Regions from separate parts of the Homo sapiens genome. Here region 1 is linked to region 2. Evidence: promoter capture Hi-C in 16 types of primary human blood cells and fetal thymus (Javierre and others, 2016). All regions are on one chromosome and are shown on one strand. Each heading gives the region's core, a stretch centred on a gene start or on the middle of the fragment in contact. The rest is flanking DNA. Distances are from core to core; before and after follow the strand shown. Region 1 has its middle 7.1 kb from the start of LINC02367. Region 2 holds the start of KLRB1 (killer cell lectin like receptor B1).

What was found. Contacts are between HindIII fragments. The CHiCAGO score rates a contact against its expected background, and 5 or more counts as called.
Region 1: a contact is called between a fragment that was not itself captured here and the fragment with the promoter of KLRB1 in region 2, in 5 of 17 cell types (M2 macrophages, total B cells, endothelial precursors and 2 more). The highest score is 7.5, in M2 macrophages.

Annotation. Positions count from the first base shown.
Region 1 is chr12:9,358,181-9,362,486 of GRCh38, reverse strand. No RefSeq gene overlaps it. Among named protein-coding and RNA genes, the nearest start is that of LINC02367, 7.1 kb to the left of the region's middle. RefSeq lists an enhancer at 150-399. The HindIII fragment of the contact is 2,764 bases long and covers 1-2,632 here.
Region 2 is chr12:9,606,333-9,610,216 of GRCh38, reverse strand. It overlaps KLRB1 (killer cell lectin like receptor B1), which reads left to right and starts at 2,301. Exons shown (of 6, transcript NM_002258.3): 1 at 2,301-2,462. The coding sequence starts at 2,378. The HindIII fragment of the contact is 4,730 bases long and covers 2,300-3,884 here.

The DNA of each region.
Region 1 (4,306 bases), core at 1-2,500, 250 kb after region 2:
AGTGAAATTATCCTGTTTTGGACAACAGCTTGGCCTTCGACAGTTTTATCAATCTGTACAACAAAACCCCAGCACTTATTAATCCCTGAAGTATGGAAACAAATGAGGAAGGGACTGTGTCTCCTGCATTAAACACATCGATGTCTCTGTCCCACAAGAGAAGCTCTTCACGGGGCTCCTTCCATGTTTGCTGTACAGAACCTCTCAAACGAACAACCTCATTCATGTGAAAATTCCCCAGAGCGGCCACTGCAGTTTCAAATGGTGTCTCAAGAAATTGTGTCAGAGGCATAAGATGAGTTCACACGACAGTGAGGAAATCTGAAAGCAGCAGGCGTTTGGCCTGGGGAAGAGCCACGTCCGATGAAGAAGGTCGCACGGGCACCCGAGCAGTCCGAGAAGAGACTTCGTGCCTCCAGAGCTTGGTCAGAGGCCACAGGCTGATTGTCCCCAATCCTCCTGATTCCAGGCAGAGGGAACTTTAAAGTGAGCAGTTCTCAGGAACCACACAGAGACAAAGTTGAGGGGAAAATCCACCCTTAGGTATGAAAACAGTGACCTGGGGCAAAGCTCATTCCAATGAATGCTAGTCTGAGGGGAACTCCTGAGCACTGTGACCTCCAAGACCAGCTTGAGGACAGACTTCCCGGGCCCCTATCAACTACTGAATTTTCCACTTAGAGACAACGCTTAGAACATTCGACCACCAGATAGACATAGGAGCATTTCTCAGAAGGCTAGACAGCAGTTTCACCGTGGAGCGGGGCAAATCTGATCAGATCACCAGGAAAAGTCGCACAGCACCTCATTCCCAGAACAGAGCACACCTGAAGCGGAGGGGCCTCAAGGAAATATCAGCCTCCATGGGGCCTCAAGGAAATATCAGCCTCCATTCAGCCCGAGCTGCCTTCCAGCTGTGGGCCACCCGGCACCTCAGACAGAGGGAGACACCCTGTATGTCTCAGCTGTGTCCACCCTAACTGAGGCGGGGGTTCTTGTCCAAGGGGGAGGGCTTCAGCTGACTCAGGGAACCTCTATTTCTGCCAATCCTCCTAAGCTAAAAAACCACCAAGAACTCACCTGTAGCTGAACCAAAATGGGTTTATTGACTTGTTGCACAAAGGAAGAATGTCCAGCAGTAAAGAGGGCCTTCAAAAGAACTTGCTATAGATGCGGGCTCGTGGCTGGTGAGTCTCAGGAGGGCTTAGGAAGCAAGGCCTTTCTCTGGGTTGGATATCGTGCATAAAGGGACCACATGGCACAGGATTCCATTCTATGCAAAAGTGCAGAACAGGCAAATCCAGAGAGACAGAAGGTAGGTTTGTGGTTGCTGGGGGCTAGGGGAAAGAAGTGTGGAGACTGACCATGCGTATGAGGTTTCTTTGTGGAGGTGATGAAAATGTTTAGAATTAGATAGTAGTGATGGACGCACAATTTTGTGAATATATATGAAAACCACTTTAAAAGGGTGATTTTTATGTTAGGTGAATGATATCTCAATTTTTAAAAAGTGAAAATAAAAAGAGGGGCCTCAAGATTTGGTGAGCTGATAGACTGATAGCAAGAGAGGATACTAAGGAAAGACACTAAGGAACACATATTCACAAAGCAGAACCGCCCAGAGCAGCAGGCTGTCAGCCTTTATGCCAGAGCCTCTGTTGGCTTCTGTCAGTGCAACCCCGCAGACACACACAGCATCGCCATGGGCTGGCCGAGGTGCCGAGGAGCACACAGAGGACTGAGACATGGTCCCTGCACTCTGGGGGAAATGACATCTCAACACAATAATGGTGTTCATCATCAGGACCCCAAGTCATGATGAAAAGGTTAAATTATTCTCAAAATGCTCAATTGTAAGAAAGCAGAGGAGTGGATCGTAAGGAATAAATGTATGAAAAAAATTTCAAAATTGCCAACCTTTTCAAGAAATATTGAAACCTCTGGTGCAGGAAGGTAATCTGTGTGGAGTGGCAGCCAGGGAATGGGATGCTGTGTGTGTGTGGAGAGGCAAACATCCCCATAGTCTTCAGGATCCCCCGAGAGGGGCCGAGTCAGAGGCCGTCAAAGCCTCCAGTCCCCTGGGCATCCAGGGCCTCATGGCAACTGTACCAGTTGTTCTCACTTTTGTTATTCTTCCATAGAACTCAACGTGCCTCTCACGCAGGGACTCAGGATGGTGCTGAGTCCAGGTGGAGGGAAGGGGTCGGATGGGGGGCTGGGTGGGGGACATGGTGGGGGCTCTGTTGGAACCTGCCACCCTTCTGGCTCTCTACCGTGTTTTTCTTAGTTAGTGGGAGGTCTGTGAGCTCCATACCTCCAGGGCCTAGCTGTGAAGCTGTTGCTGGTGTGGATCTGTCCAATGGAGTTTGCTGGGTGGGGGAAGGTGTGAGGGAACCTCCATCTTGGAACGGCATCTCCAGAATGCAGGAGTGAGGCTGGCACACAGCACGGCCTCTGTGGACAGGGGGTCCAGGGAGGTTGGGGAGGGGCCTCAGGGATGGAGGGACAGAACTGGGGCCTCCCATTCTATCCACATCAGCCTGGTGAGTTCAGATCATCTCTTTAGCACCTTATCACCACTTCCACACTCAGGTGATTTCAAGGAACCTTAGGTCCCCAATTGCCACAAGCTTTGGGGCACAGCTCCTGCCTTGTAAAATAAATATTTTGGAGATTTTAAAGATGTAAATTCAAACTGGCTTTTGGAAAAGACAGGTTTTAAGGGATGGTTCCCATTCTAATGTCGGGGCTTTCCATCAGGCCACCCTGGGCAGAACCCGGGGGCGAAAAGAGAGAAATGAACAAAGCCTCCAAAAAATATGGGACTATGTGAAAAGACCAAATCTACAATTGACTGGTGTACCTGAAAGTGACAAGGAGAGTGGAACCAAGCTAGAAAACACTCTTCAGGATATTATCCAGGAGAATTTCCCCAACCTAGCAAGGCAGGCCAACATTCAAATTAAGGAAATACAGAGACCACCACAAAGATACTCCTCGAGAAGAGCAACCCCAAGACACATAATTGTCAGACTCACCAGGGTTCAAATAAAGGAAAAAATGGTAAGGGCAGCCAGAGAGAAAGGTTGGGTTACCCACAAAGGGGAGCCCATCAGACTAACAGCAGATCTCTCAGCAGAAACTCTACAGGCCAGAAGAGAGTAGGGGCCAATATTCAACATTCTTAAAGAAAAGAATTTTCAATCCAAAATTTCATATCCAGCCAAACTAAGCTTCATAAGTGAAGGAGAAATAAAATCCTTTATAGACAAGCAAATGCTGAGAGATTTTGTCACCATGAGGCCTGCCTTACAAGAGCTCCTGAAGGAAGCACTAAACATGGAAAGGGACAACCTGTATCAACCACTTCAAAAACATGCCAAATTGTAAAGACCATCGATGCTATGAAGAAACAGCATCAATTAATGGGCAAAATAACCAGCTAACATTGTAATGACGGGATCAAATTCACACACAAGTATATTAATGTTAAACGTAAATGGGCTAAATGCCCCTAATAAAAGACACAGACTGGCAAATTGGATAAGGAGTCAAGACCCATTAGTGTGCTATATTCAGGAGACCCATCTCAAGTGCAGGACACACATAGGCTCAAAATAAATGGATGGAGGAAGATCTGCCAAGCAAATGGAGAGAAAAAAAAAGCAGGGGTTGCAATCCTAGTCTTTGATACAGCAGACGTTAAACCAGTGAAGATCTAAAGAGACAAAGAAGGCCATTACATAATGGTAAAGGGATCAATTCAACAAGAAGAGCTAATTGTCCTAAACATATATGCACCCAATACAGGAGCACTCGGATTCATGAAGCAAGTCCTTAGAGACCTAGAAAGAGACCTAGACTCCCACACAGTAATAATGGGAGACTTCAACACCCCACTGTCCATATTAGACAGATCAATGAGACAGAAGGTTAACAAGGATATCCAGGACTTGAACTCAACTCTGCACCAAGTGGATCTAATAGACATCTACAGAACTCTCCACCCCAAATCAACAGAATATATATTCTTCTCAGCACCACATCACATTTATTATAAAATTGACCACATAATTGGAAGTAAAGCACTCCTCAGCAAATGTAAAAGAACAGAAATCACAACAAACTGTCTTTCATACCACAGTGCAATCAAATTAGAAATCAGGATTAAGAAACTCACTCAAAACCATACAACTACATGGAAACTGAACAAGCTGCTCCTGAATGACTACTGGGTAAATAATGAAATGAAGGCAGAAATAAAGATGTTCTTTGAAATCAATGAGAACAAAGACACAACGTACCA
Region 2 (3,884 bases), core at 1,052-3,551:
GCTTACGGATAGGAAGAATCAGTATTGTGAATATGGCCATACTGCCCAAGGTAATTTATAGATTCAATGCCATCCCCATCAAGCTACCAATGACTTTCTTCACAGAATTGGAAAAAACTACTTTAAAGTTCATATGGAACCAAAAAAGGTCCCACATTGCCAAGACAAACCTAAGTCAAAAGAACAAAGCTGGAGGCATCACGCTACCTGACTTCAAACTATACTCCAAGGCAACAGCAACCAAAACAACATGGTACTGGTACCAAAACAGAGATATAGACCAATGGAACAGAACAGAGCCCCCGGAAATAATACCACATATCTACAACCATCTGATCTTTGACAAATCTGACAAAAACGAGAAATGGGGAAAGGATTCCCTATTTAATAAATGGTGCTGGGAAAACTGGCTAGCCATATATAGAAAGCTGAAACTGGATCCCTTCCTTACACCTTATAAAAAATTAATTCAAGATGGATTAAAAACTTAAATGTTAGATCTAAAACCATAAAAACCCTAGAAGAAAACCTAGGCAATACCATTCAGGCAACAGGCATGGGAAGGACTTCATGACTAAAACACCAATAACAATGGCAACAAAAGCCAAAATTGACCAATGGGATCTAACTAAATTAAAGAGCTTCTGCACAGCAAAAGAAACTACCATCAGAGTGAACAGACAACCTACAGAATGGGAGAAAATTTTTACAATCTACCCATCTGACAAACGGCTAATATCCAGAATCTACAAAGAACTTACATAAATTTACAAGAAAAAATCAACCAACCCCATCAAAAAATGGGCAAAGGATATGAACAGACACTTCTCAAAAGAAAACATTTATGCAGGCAACAGACACATGAAAAAATGCTCATCATCACTGGCCATCAGAGAAATGCAAATCTAAACCACAATGAGATACCATCTCACACCAGTTAGAATGACAGTCATTAAAAAGTCAGGAAAAAACAGGTGCTGGAGAGGATGTGGAGAAATAGGAACACTTTTACACTGTTGGTGGGACTCTAAACTAGTTCAACCATTGTGGAAGACAGTGTGGCGATTCCTCGAGGGACTAGAACTAGAATTTGACCCAGCCATCTCATTACTGGGTATATACCCAAAGGATTATAAATCACGCTGCTATAAAGACACATGCACACATATGTTTATTGTGGCACTATTCACAATAGCAAAGACTCGTGAACCATCCCAAATGTCTATCAATGATAGACTGGATTAAGAATATATGGCACATATGCACCATGGAATAGTATGCAGCCATAAAAAAGGATGAGTTCATGTCCTTTGTAGGGACATGGATGAAGCTGGAAACCATCATTCTGAGCAAACTATTGCAAGGACAGAAAACCAAACACCGCATGTTCTCACTCATAGGTTGGAATTGAACAATGAGAATATTTGGACACAGGGAGGGGAACACCACACACCGGGGCCTGTCGTGGGGTGGGGGGAGGGGGGAGGGATAGCATTAGGAGATATACCTAATGTAAATGACAAGTTAACGGGTGCAGCACACCAACATGGCACATGTATACATATGTAACAAACCTGTACATTGTGAACTTAAAGTATAATAATAATAAAAAAAGGTAAAAAAAAAAAAGTAGACACATACTATAATCACCTTGAAAAAAAAAGAAAGTCTTTCAAAGAGATAAAAAATTCCATATACTCCACTTCCTACAATTCTGGCAGTTTCCAAATACTTTTACTTATGTGAAAATGCTATCATATCCAAGAGTGCCTTTAGAGCTAAGCTAACAGTAGGCTACTGATCTTTAGCACATTGCTTTTTCTGTTGTGTTATTCAGGGGGCTTTCTCACATTTATGTTTCCATTTTTCACATTTCACAACTTTCTTTGGAGCACAGATATTTCAGGAAGATTTTAGAGCCTTTGAATAGCATTATGGACTTTTTTGCATTAATTTTTACTTTTACAAAATTGTGCTAAATATTATTTCTGTTAATTAGTGAGTTTTGTTGGGGGCCCCTTAAATTGGAACCCCAGGCTATGCCTCATTTGCTTCACTCTGGTCCTGGCCCTGAGAGAGGAACACAAAAGGGATGGTTAGAAAAACAAGAACAAATGAGCCTCCCAGAATTTTCTCAAACAACAGGCCAGTTAATTAAGGAAAGTAGATATTACATAGCTAGGTATAATGAACATGCAGTCAGTGGATTGTCTCAGTAATTTATGGAGATAACCACCAACAAAAAGTGTATGTGGGTGGGGACAAAAGAGAGACAACAAAGTACTGCAGGCAGAAAGCTTCCTTTTGCTGATTTTGCCTCACAGAATTGAGAGTTTGTTCTTACACACAAGTTTAATGCCACCTTCCTCTGTCTGCCATGGACCAACAAGCAATATATGCTGAGTTAAACTTACCCACAGACTCAGGCCCAGAAAGTTCTTCACCTTCATCTCTTCCTCGGGGTAAGTGGCTTTAATTTTCCTTTCGGCATTTGTATGTCTTCCAGAATTAGATCTTCCTGTTACATTTATGGCTTTAAATCATTGCTTTAAAGATGAGCAGTAGTTTTATATTAATGTTTAACGGGTGTTGCATGGCTTGCCTGTAGATAATCACAACTTTGGGAAAAAAAATTTAAACCTCATACATTTATTTTTTTCAATCAAGTTAGCATGAAAAGCAAACATCACTTGTCTTACTGAGCCTTGGTTAAAAGACTCTGAACACTTTAGGCTACCCTGGGCACACTGCCTATTGGTTACCCCTGCTCTACAGGGATGGAAAGAAGGAAGAAAGAAAGAAAGAAAGAAAAGAAAGAAAGAAAGAAAGAAAGAAAGAAAGAAAGAAAGAAAGAAAGAAAGGAAGAAAGAAAGAAAGAAAGGAAAGAAAGAGAAAGAAAAGAAGAAAGAAAGAAAGGAGAGAAAGAAAAAGAAAGAGAGAGAAAGGAAAGGAAAGAAAGAAAAAGAGAAGGAGGAAGGAAGGAAGGATGGAAGGAAGGAAGGAAAAATATTTTACATGTATGAACTAAGGAATATTTAAGACACATTGCAAACTTGCTGTAATAACAACCTACGTTATTCCAAATTCCTCTACAAAATATCAATACTATGATTAAGTCCCAGTGCATTTTCATCCATAATATTCCTTTCAGAATACAACGTGTAGGCCAGTTGCAGTGGCTCATGCCTGTAATCCCAACACTTTGGTAGGCTAAGGTGATTTGCTTGAGTCCAGGAGTTTAAGGCCAGCCTGGGCAATGTGGCAAAACCTCATCTCTACAAACAATACAAAAAAATAGCCAAGTGTGGGGCACGTGCCTGTGGTCCTAGCTACTCGGGAGGCTGAGGTGAGAGGATTGCTTGAGCCCAAGAGATCAAGGCTGCAGTGAGCTGTAATTGTGCCACTGTACTCCAGCCTGGGTGACACAGCAAGACTATCTCAAAAAAAAAAAAAAAATATATATATATATATATATATATATACTTTTTATACATATATTTTATATATTTTATATATATATATATACTTTTTATACATATATTTTATATATTTTATATATATATATATAAAGTGTAGGCTTAATGAGTAACATACTTCACTCTCTCAAGAGAGGGGAACACTTTCTGGAAAAAAAATCATATTCAAGATCAAAGATTTGAATATCATTACTACCTGATAGTTTCTAGTTTGAAAAGTATCACAGCTTAGAAAGAGACAAGCCACAAAAATACTCGAGCATATCAGTAACGAACCTACTTACCATTTGTTGAAACTGGCACTTTCCTGTGTCTCTGAAGAGTTAGCATTCTGAGTGAAAGAAGCGGGGAACACCAATGTGAGGTAACACATGATGGATAGCATGGCCTGTGGATGGATGGGAAGAA